Regions from separate parts of the Homo sapiens genome. Here regions 1 and 2 are each linked to region 3. Evidence: promoter capture Hi-C in human tissues and cell types (Jung and others, 2019). All regions are on one chromosome and are shown on one strand. Each heading gives the region's core, a stretch centred on a gene start or on the middle of the fragment in contact. The rest is flanking DNA. Distances are from core to core; before and after follow the strand shown. Region 1 holds the start of GARIN1B (golgi associated RAB2 interactor 1B). Region 2 overlaps RBM28 (RNA binding motif protein 28). Region 3 holds the start of METTL2B (methyltransferase 2B, tRNA N3-cytidine).

The links. The method cuts DNA at HindIII sites, captures the fragments that hold promoters and counts their contacts. A contact is called where the count stands out against the background at its distance.
Region 1: a contact is called between a fragment that was not itself captured here and the fragment with the promoter of METTL2B in region 3, in 2 of the 25 tissues and cell types used here (aorta and bladder).
Region 2: a contact is called between a fragment that was not itself captured here and the fragment with the promoter of METTL2B in region 3, in 1 of the 25 tissues and cell types used here (adrenal gland).

What each region holds. Positions count from the first base shown.
Region 1 is chr7:128,714,857-128,718,235 of GRCh38, forward strand. GARIN1B (golgi associated RAB2 interactor 1B) reads left to right here and starts at 535. Exons shown (of 7, transcript NM_001282788.3): 1 at 535-834; 2 at 1,957-2,141. The coding sequence starts at 586. The HindIII fragment of the contact is 6,852 bases long and covers 1-3,379 here.
Region 2 is chr7:128,332,171-128,335,803 of GRCh38, forward strand. It overlaps RBM28 (RNA binding motif protein 28), which reads right to left. Exons shown (of 19, transcript NM_018077.3): 8 at 3,373-3,509; 9 at 1,120-1,192. Among named protein-coding and RNA genes, the nearest start is that of RBM28, 9.9 kb to the right of the region's middle. The HindIII fragment of the contact is 4,118 bases long and covers 74-3,633 here.
Region 3 is chr7:128,474,561-128,478,013 of GRCh38, forward strand. METTL2B (methyltransferase 2B, tRNA N3-cytidine) reads left to right here and starts at 2,188. Exons shown (of 9, transcript NM_018396.3): 1 at 2,188-2,315; 2 at 2,522-2,613. The coding sequence starts at 2,206. RefSeq lists enhancers at 2,025-2,074, 2,295-2,464. The HindIII fragment of the contact is 14,580 bases long and covers 1-3,453 here.

The DNA.
Region 1 (3,379 bases), core at 341-2,840, 240 kb after region 3:
TTCTTCAGTTTGACCTCCTAAGGGAAGTAAGTCCTGCAGAAGTAACCAGCCTGCCGCGGCAGAATGCAGAGCAGGCACCAACTGCCCTGCAACTGCTTCCATAACCTGCAGATCCACCAGGGTGTCGGGGGCCCACATGCTGCAAAGCTTAGGAAGATGGGGTTTTCAATGGACATGCAGCTTTTAAAGTTGTGTGAGATAGGTTGCATTCAGAGTAAGGAAGGGTTGAAAGGCAGGAAGGGCATTTTCCTCTTAGCAGTGGAAGGATCTTCCTGACAGCCCTCCTTGCTTGCTTTCTGCCTGGCTCACTGCTTTCTCAGCAAGTTCCGGGAGGACTATGTCCTGGGGTTCCGAAAAGGGCTGGGGAATGTCCAGGCACGGATAAGGCACACAAGCTCTCTGGAGGAAAAGGGAGGCTCCTTTGCACTTCCCCTTCCTGCAGGTCTGTCCTGGTTTTTCATGATGTCATCCATTCATCATTGTGAGCTGACTGGTGGTCCCAGGGCTTGGCCAGCTGCCCAAGGCCAGGAGGGGAGACAGAGATCCCAGGACAAATGTGCAGCAGGCCCCTGAGCATGTGTAGAAATGTTGTCATCATTTCCACATAGAAAGACTTGGAGGAAATCAAAGAAGACAGTAAAAGTCACAAGATCCTATCCAACCTTCCCTTCCCTGAATGCCTGGGAAGAATTCAGGGGCCTCTTGCCTGTGGATGGAGAGCCGAACCCTGGAGCGGGCCTAGGTGTGGAGGAGGGACTGCTCTGCCGGGTGGTTCATTCTCCAGAATTCAACCTGTTTCTTGACTCCGTGGTGTTTGAAAGCAACTTCATCCAGGTATTCTTGGGTGGCGCAGAATAGCACTCTTTGATTCTTCGAAACCTGTTCCCAAGATATGACTGAGAGAGTCCATCCCTGAAACTGGGGCAGAGTGAGAATTGAGGCAAGGAGAAGCTAGTGGACCTGGAATGCAAGGCCACCCTCACTGACCTGGGCTTTGCTGAGCCCCAGACGGGGCTTCTCCTACAGACAGCTGTCACCCAGGGAGAAAGGTCAGGGGTCCTCTGCTCTGAGTGGAGAATTTGGTATCTAATCCCCCAGTTTACTTCAGCCCCCAGGCTGTCACCTGAAGTAGATGAACAAAGAGGCAGTAAAAAGAGACGCTTCTTGAGAACAATAATGCGGATTGGCGAAAGAACAGCACCTGGGGTCCCAGAGACAGCTGGGCTCAGATTCCAGTCCTCTGCCTTCTCCTTGGGAGGTGACTGTGCAAGTAACCTGTGCAGCCTGAATCTGGCCCCTTGATTGTAAAAGGGTTGAACTGACCTGAGGATGAAATGCAAATACAGCAAGAAAAGTACCTTGTCTAACAGGCACTCGGTGCACGTTCGTCTCCTTGCCTGGGCTCTCCTCTGGTTGGATGGAAGCGAGAATGAACAGCACTTTGGAGTTAGAGAGGACCTTCCTGTTCAGTGAAGGTGCAGGAGATAATAGGGCACCTCGGGGAAGGACCAAGAGGATACATTTTTCAAAGAAGGCCAGGAAACAGTCCAGGGAGGATTGGCAGAAATGACAGATGGCAGGGAACTCCTGGGTTGTAATTCCTGTGGGCAATTGTTAACAAATGGGTGGTTGAAATATTGTTTAAATACTAGTAGTTGTTTAATCAATATAGTGGCTATCAACAAGAATTGATTTTTGGCCCCAACTGCCAGGGAACATTTGACGATGTCTGGAGACATTTTTTATTGTCACGATTTGGCTGGTAGTGCTACTAGAACTAGTAGGTAGAGGTCAAGGATGCTACTAAGCATTCTTTAGTGTGCAGGGCAGTATCCTACCCTCAACAAAGAATATCCAACCCAAAACATTAATAGTGTCGAGGTTGAGAAACCCTGGGCTGAAACAGACTGCAGCTTTTGCCAAATGCTCAGGTTGTGCCTGGGGGCTGTGTTGCAGGTCAAAAGGGGCAGGAATTGGAGAGACGTCTACAAAGCTTCCAACACCATGGCCCTGGGGGTGACCTCCTCGGTACCCTGCCTGCCCCTCCCCAACATCCTACTCATGGCCAGTGTCAAATGGCACCAGGGGCAGAACCAGACATGGAACAGACCATCCATAGCCCCCAACATCTTCCTGAAGAGGTGAGCAATGCAGATGAGAATGGAGGACAAGAGGGGTGAGGGGTGGATGCAAAGTGGAGGTTGCTTGACTACTAAACTCAAGGAGAAGATAGAGATGTCATCAGCAGTGACATTGATTTTTTTAGACAACAGAGTATCCTAAGACAGGTGTTGCACTGGAAGGACAGAGGCCAAGTGGGACAAAGGGAGATGTCATGTGGACAGGAGTCAGGGGCTAGTCTACCTGCCCACTTTCTTTCTCGCTGCACAGACGCCACTGAATTCATAGGAAATCTCTCAGCATTGGGCCCAAGGGCAAGGAGGCAGTGAGTCTGGCAGATGGAGCACTGGTTGGGGAAAGGAGATTATTTCTAGTTCTTGGTGTACAACTAACTGGACTCAATTTTTAAAATCACAAGTTATTTGCTGCTCCTCAGTTTTCTTTGTCTTTTTCTTTTTCTTTCTTTCTTTTTTTTTTTTTTTGAGACTGAGTCTCAAAAAAGACTATCGCCCAGGCTGGAGTACAATGGTGGGATCTTGGCTCACTGCAACCTCTGCCTCACAGGTTTAAGTGATTCTCCTGCCTCAGCCTCCCGAGTAGCTGGGATTATAGGTGCCTGCCACCACACCTGGATAATTTTTGTATTTTTAATAGAGACAGGGTTTCACCATGTTGGCCAGGCTGGTCTTGAACTCCTGACCTCAGGTGACCCACCCTCCTCAGCCTCCCAAAGTGCTGGGATTACGGGCGTGAGCCACTGTGCCCGGCCAGGTTTTTTTTGTTTTTTTTTTTTAATCAGTAAAATAAATGGGACTAAGTCTCACTTAGAGCTGTAGCATATAGTGACATCATGCTTGTCTGGGACGAAGTAGCCTTTTTAAATTTTGGGGCCTCTTTAAATAATCTGTAGGATATCTCAAGAATCTCTAGAAATTCCCAAAAGTCCAAGAAAACCCTTCATTTCTCCATGCTACCTCAGTGACACACCTCTCCATGATGTTCTTGGTGTACCTCTAGCAAGTACCACCCAGTCCCAGCTGACTAATATTAGATCCAAAGCCAGATCCTTGAACTTTAACTCCCTTGGGAAGACTAACTGTGGCATTAAACTCAATAAATGCACAAGCCAGACAGTGGGGCAAGCTCCTTTGGTGCTTTCAAGAAAGAAATTTTGGCTGGGCGCGGTGGCTCGTGCCTGTAATCCCAGCACTTTGGGAGGCAGAGGCAGGTGGATCGCCTAAGGTCAGGAGTTCGAGAC
Region 2 (3,633 bases), core at 883-3,382, 140 kb before region 3:
GACATGCAGTTAGGTGAGAAAATGGGCTTCAGTATAGCATGTATAAATTCATCTCTGTGAATCTTTATGATGTGGGCATGTAGTGTAGATGTTCTCTGAGTAGTGATTAAGGTTAATTTTTTTGACTTTTTGCTCATGTATTTCATCAATTTCCTAGAATGAACACAAATTGTATAAGAAAACAAATTTTTTTTTTTTTTTAAGACAGAGTCTTGCTCTGTCGCCCAGGCTGGAGTGCAGTGGCACAATCCCAGCTCACTGCAACCTCCACCTCTGCGTTTTAAGTGATTCTCGTGCCTCAGGCCTCCCGAGTAGCTGGGATTACAGGCACACACCACCATGCATGGCCAATTTTTGTATTTTTAGTAAAAATGGGGTTTCACCATGTTGGCCAGGCTGGTCTCGAATTGCCCTCAAGTGATCCATCTGCCTCAGCCTCCCACGGTGCTGAGATTACAGGCCTGAGCCACCGCACCCAAGAAAATAATTCTAAAAGATTGTACAAGAAGATAAAATATATAACTCTAAAATCGGATGCAAATGACCCTAGTACACTGGTACTTAAGGACTAGAAGGCAGGCCTGAGGTATACTGAAGACATCCTGACCTCATAAAAGCAGCAATCTATTGCAGTCAGTAGAGCTAAAACACAACAGCAACACGAAATAAAGCCTATTGCCACCCCCACTCCCACCTAGTTTTCCTGGAAACAGATGAGATGCCTTACTTTATTCTGGACACTGCATCAGAAGATAAGTTAGGCATAAAGACAGAAATCATTTGAGACAAGCAGTGTCAATCCTCTCCAGCACTCCCCCTAAAACAAAGGCCGGAAGCAAGATGTTTCTAACAGTTGAACTGATTTCTTCCAAATGATGCCAACCCAATTACAAAGCATGAAATCTAAATGAAAACGTGATGTCAGGACCCATGCTATCTGTCTTCTGTGTTATAGTTCTGATTGTCCTACATTTCTCATTGTTTAGTATGTTCCTGGGACCAGATGTGCTTGATCTAATTTCTGGGCTAGGTAACAGAACTAGTGCCAAAAAGAGAAGAAGAAGGAAGAGAGATCTATGAAGACCACGCAAAAGCAATTCTGGAGGCAGAAAGACATACCTGATAAAAACAGTTTTCCCTTCATTCACATCAGAGGGTAATTTCCTCTTCTTTTTGTTTGAGACTTGCACAGCTAAGGTAAAAAGAAAAACAACAAACTGAAAGAGATTAGTGTAAGCCACATGACAAAGAGCTAACTTCTTAAGTACATAAAGATAAGCCTGGCGCAGTGGCTCATGCCACTTTGAAAAGCCCAGGCGGGCTGATCACCTGAGGTCAGGAGTTCGAGACCAGCCTGGCCAACATGGCAAAACCCTGTCTCTACTAAAAATACAAAAATTAGCCAGGCGTGGTAGCAGGCACCTATAGTCCCAGCTACTCAGGAGGCTGAGGCAGGAGAATCCCTTGAACCTGGGAGGTGGAGGTTGCAGTGAGCCAAGATTGAGCCATTGCACTCCAGCCACGGTGACAAGAGCGAAACAAAGTCTCAAAAAAAATAAATAAATAAAAATAAAAATAGACAAAGGACATGCTAAGTATATGAAAAGATGTTCAAACTCACTCTTAATTAAAGAAAACATAGCACAAGAAATGAGATACTATTTTTCACCAACAGATTGCAAAATCAAAAAGACTGATGGAATCCAATGTGGTAAGGTTATGGGAAAAAGACATTTCCATATACTACTATGACAGTGTAAACTTTCTGGAAATACTGTATAGGACATAGGAAACTTTGAGGAAAAAACATACACATACAATCACACACAAATTATAAAATACACTACATTTTGAATGTGTATATGTGTGTGTATATGTGTGCATTTTGCTTATAAATGTATTAAAATATCTATAGATACACAAGAAACAAATAACCTTGGTTGTCTCTGGGGAAGTTCCCTAAGAAGCTGAGGATCTGGGTATAAGGGAGACTCACTGTTTGTTTTCAAGAACAGACATATAAGCTTATACATACAAAGAAAATATCTGGAAGGATGCACAAGAAACAACAGTGATTACTTCAGGGAATTGTTAGGATTGGTGAGAAACTTCTACTTTGTGTATTACACTCTTCTGTGTTGTGTTTTAACTTTTTATCATTATCATTTATCTGTCCTATAAGTTTTTTAGGTGAAAGAATGGCATGAGACAGCTGACTGTGGGTTGTAGAATACAGGATCTCAGAGTCCCTTCAGTGTAGAAGCTTCTTTGATTCTAAGGTGTATACCATTCTCTCCTCACAGAAAAAGCTTATTTCCTCAGATTTCTTATATGGTCAAACCAACATGTCAGACTTACTGAAATGGAATCAGAATAAAAACAGCTGAAATAAAAATCTCCACCCAGACAAATCAAAGAACCAGTTATTAGCCATTTCTCATTCTGTAATGACCTGCCTTCCTCAATAAACAAGTTGAATTTATTCTCAATAAAGGTAGCAATAAGGATTGGCTAAAGTTTTACAACATGTTCAAAGAGGTCCTTGTTATGGAACGCACTGTGTTCCCCCAAAATTCATACATTGAAGCCCTAACCCCAAATATAATTGTATTTGGAGACAGAGACTTTAGGGAGGTAACTGAGGCTAGCTAAATGAGGTCTTAAGGTTGGGCCCTAATCTGATAGGATTGCTGTGCTTATAAGAAAAGAGAGACCAGAGTTCACTGTTACTTGTTCTCTCTCTCCCCTCGTCAAGCCACAAAGAAAAGGCCATGCAAGCACATAGCGAGAAGGCAGCAGTCTGCAAGCTAGGAAGAGAGCTGCACCCAAAATGAATCAGCTGGCACCTGGGACTTCTAGCCTCTAGAGCTGTGAGAAAATAAGTTTCTGCTGTTTAAGCCACCCAGTTTATGGTATTTTGTTATGTCAGTCCAAACTGACTAAACAGTTCTTTATCCCCATCTCAACTCCAAGGAGTTGTTTAAAATCTAGCTTGATGTTGAGATGGTTATATCATCTGTTTCATCTATATTATCTGTATAAGATGCTGTTTACCTGGTTATTCTATCAAGTTGGACAATCCAGAGAGAGGTAGAACCTCAGCATTAAGCTAGGTTTTCAATTCCCTAAGAATCTTAACCCTCAAACACCACTCCAAAACTCACTTAAAAAACAAAACAAACAAAAAGGAAACAACAAAAAAACCTTTGGAAGAAAGGAGTATAAAGGTTTCCTTTTCAGCATTTAAACATAAATTTGATAGAACACCTTAGAGTCCTATTTAAAAAGAGATCTAAGCAGAACTGATGCTCATTTCCGTAACTTCAGTAACTTTTTTAAAGTCTAAAGACATTTATGAAAATCCAAACAAACCTTTATCCTCTTGCTCCTCAGTGCTGGTATCACTCTGAGCCAGTTCCTCTCCATCATCAATACTATCGCTTTCCTCTAGGTCACTGTCCTCCTCAGAATGATCACTGCTTTTTGCAGGGGCTGGTCTCTTGACTGCTCTGCAATGGCACAGATCAGAACTAAGGAGGTGGGCTGACAGAGGGCCTATTCAATTTCATTACACATGTCAATTCTGCAATGATGCAGGCAGAAAAAGGAGAATTTTTCCTCTCGGAGACAATC
Region 3 (3,453 bases), core at 938-3,437:
ATAGGTTTTACAGGCCAATCAAATATAATTGTATAAAATTAAGTTTAGGCCGGGCGCGGTGGCTCACTCCTGTAATCCCAGCACTTTGGGAGGCCAAGGTGGGCGGATCATGAGGTCAGGAGATTGAGACCATCCTGGCCAACATGGTGAAAACCCATCTCTACTAAAAATACAAAAAATTAGCCGGGCATGGTGGCGGGTGCCTGTAGTCCCAGCTACTCGGGAGGCTGAGGCAGGAGAATGGCGTGAACCCGGGAAGTAGGGAGCTTGCAGTGAGCCGAGATCACGCCACTACACTCCAGCCTGGGAGACAGTGCGAGACTCCGTCTCAAAAATAAATAAATAAATAAATAAATAAAAATAAAAAATAAAATTAAGTTTAGGATACTTTAGCACATTTCATAGAAAAAAGGCCAAAGCTGTTTGACATTTAAAATGTCTCCATTGGAACTAATATAGTAAATTCAAGTGAAGACAATGAGCTGTCTGCAAGAAAATATCCAGTGGGACTGTTGATTGGGAACACTAACAGCTTTTAGTGAGGGGAGAATAAAAGCCCACAGATGAGAAAACAAGATGCCAGAAATAAATGTAAATCAACCACCATATCTGCAAACAGCTGGCCTTGAGAAAAGATAAAAATTCCTTGTACTTGTTTCTGGGTATGGAGCTTGTGTTCAAAATGTTTCCAAAGACCACAAGAATGGCAAAAGCATATTGTCTTCAAATGAAGTACAACTTCTTTACTATCTTTTTGATTAACTTGTGTATTTTTCTTCCTGATTAGAGAGGCTTAGAGCTTGTTCCCATTTCTTTGGAGGAAAAGTATAGAATCATTCATTGCTCCCTGTAGTTTTACCTACAGAAAGAATTTACAATGGAATAAACAATTACTGGCTGGGCACGGTGGCTCACACCTGTAATCCCAACACTTTGGGAGACCGAGGTGGGCAGATCATTTGAGGTCAGGAGTTCAGGACCAGCCCAGGCAACATGGTGAAACCCCATCTCTACTAAAAATACAAAAATTAGCCGAGTGTGGTAGCGCGCACCTGTAATCCCGGCTACTCAGGAGGCTGAGGCAGGAGAATCACCTGAGCCCAGGACATGGAGGTTATAACGAGCTGAGATCCAGCTACTGCACTCCAGCCTGGGAAACAGAGCAAGACTCCGTCTCAAAAAAAAAAAAAAAAAAGTACTAATTACCAATGTGCTATGTCTAGCACTGCACTAACCCTTTCCTTTTTTAAAAAAATTCATCTTTCCCTTTATTCTGACATTATGACATTAAATAAAGTCCAAGAGATATTGGGCTGGTCCTTGTTTGGTCTCTGCCCTTTCCTTCTTTTCCAAGTGGTATTCATCATGCTTCTCTTGGAAGTCTTCTCAAATAACCTTATGTCTATAACATACTTTCTTCTAGATTCTTTTGAGAGTCTATTTGTATTAGATCTAGAAATAGAAATGTAAGGCTGAAATGTATTACTATGACAAACTGTATGTGTGTATTACAATCTTAATTGTGCTAATAAGGATAATTATAATAAATATAATATGGATGATTCAAAAAGGTTAGATGGTTATAATTAAAAAAAAATTGTCCTTGGATATTCCATTTGATTTGCTAAGCCTCGTGTTCTCTAATTTCATATATCCATCTCCCCCACCCCAACCAAAATATATATACACACTGTGTATACATATACACCCACACTATGAAGAGCTGACTATAGAAGCTGGAAATTGCCCTGTTTCTTTCCGCTGCTTGCTACCTTCTTCAGTTCTGGACATCGGCTCCGCAGTGGAACTAGGTAGCCTCAACTCTTATAATGATTCAAGATTATTCCTGTTTTACAACTTGAGGGAAGCTGGGGAACCTGTTAAGAGGATCCCAGCAATGAACTGGGCCTCAAGTGGAATGTCTCCCACTTTCTGCCTAACCTGCACGTCCATCAGCACCTCATCAATGAGATACGACTCCTCCGGGGAGAATTTCCCCCTGCCTGGTCCCCTTCCCTAGAGAGCCCTTCGCCAACCCTGGGAAAGCCCCAAACGACAGCTCCCGAGCGCCACCCGGACCAGACTCCAGGACCGCCCTGTCCCGCCACCCTTTTTCCCGCCCAGACTCCACGTCTTCTGAAAGAGGGCGTGGCCCGCAGGAAGTTCTCGCGTTACGGAAAGTGAAGTGTTTCCGGCTCCGGTGTCATGGCCGGCTCCTACCCTGAAGGTGCACCTGCAATCCTCGCCGATAAGAGGCAGCAGTTCGGAAGCCGGTTCCTGAGCGATCCGGCGCGCGTCTTCCACCACAATGCCTGGTAATCACCCTGCCCCCTCGCCCGGCCTGTCGCTGGCCGTCTGTCCCGCCGCCTCGGAGCATTCCGAAAAGCCCCTGACCGCCGGCCACGAGTCAAGCTGCCCTACCCGAGGCACTCTCCAAGGGGAGAGAAACTCCTAGGCCAGCGACTCACCCTGCTCGCAGCCAGGACGTGAAGCCCCTAAGCTGCCCGTTTGATTTTCTCAGGGACAATGTGGAGTGGTCGGAAGAGCAAGCCGCGGCGGCGGAGAGAAAAGTCCAGGAGAACAGTATCCAGCGGGTGTGCCAGGAGAAACAAGGTGCGCTTAAATGGGCTCTCGTTGGTATCAACAGCCAGCGTACTGCCGAACGCGCCCTCCCGGAGAGGCCAGGGAACCGCGGCCGCCCACATCCTTTATTCCTGGCCTGATGCGGATCTCAGGAGTAGAGCAGGACAGGGAGGGGATGAGCAAGGAGGGAAAAGGGCTGCATTGTAACAAAATCTTAAGTCGTAGAGGGTTTTTTTAATATATAGTTTTACTTTGGAGGAGGGTAATTTTGTCTTTAATTATGTTGAGTAGATCCACGTTGATATGGCTAGCCAATGACAACTGTGTGGTCACGCGATCATCTTAGAACCTGTACTTTTTACATGATTTGCATTTTCCATGAGGAGATGTTTCCATTGAAGCTTCATTTAAGTGATTAGATTCTAAATATTGTTGGGAGGGGGGCTAATGACTGGTGACTGTGTGTCTATTACTTGTGTGATGGTTATGAGAATTTAGGGCTTCAGTCAAGGAAAGGTGGATGCAGCAGAGTGGAGATAAGTCTGGCCAAAGAAAAGGAGGCCCCTGCTTGAGAGGTTGATGATTTCACTGCAAAATATCCCTAGATAGTAAAACTAGGACTGATTGTTCCAGACAATTGAAGATAGCACTACAAATTTAGTACCTGCTGAAAGAGTTCTGTACAACAAAAAGGTTCCAGTTACAAAACATTCACCCTGCATAGTCTGACAGCAACTAGATCAAAGCAAGTTAATAGTTAAAAGGGATTTTGAAAATCATGTGGTTCAATATTCTCTTTTTATAGTTAAAGACACTTGGACCACAGGACATTAAGTGCTTTTCCCAGAGGTAAGCAGTCAGTAGTAGCAG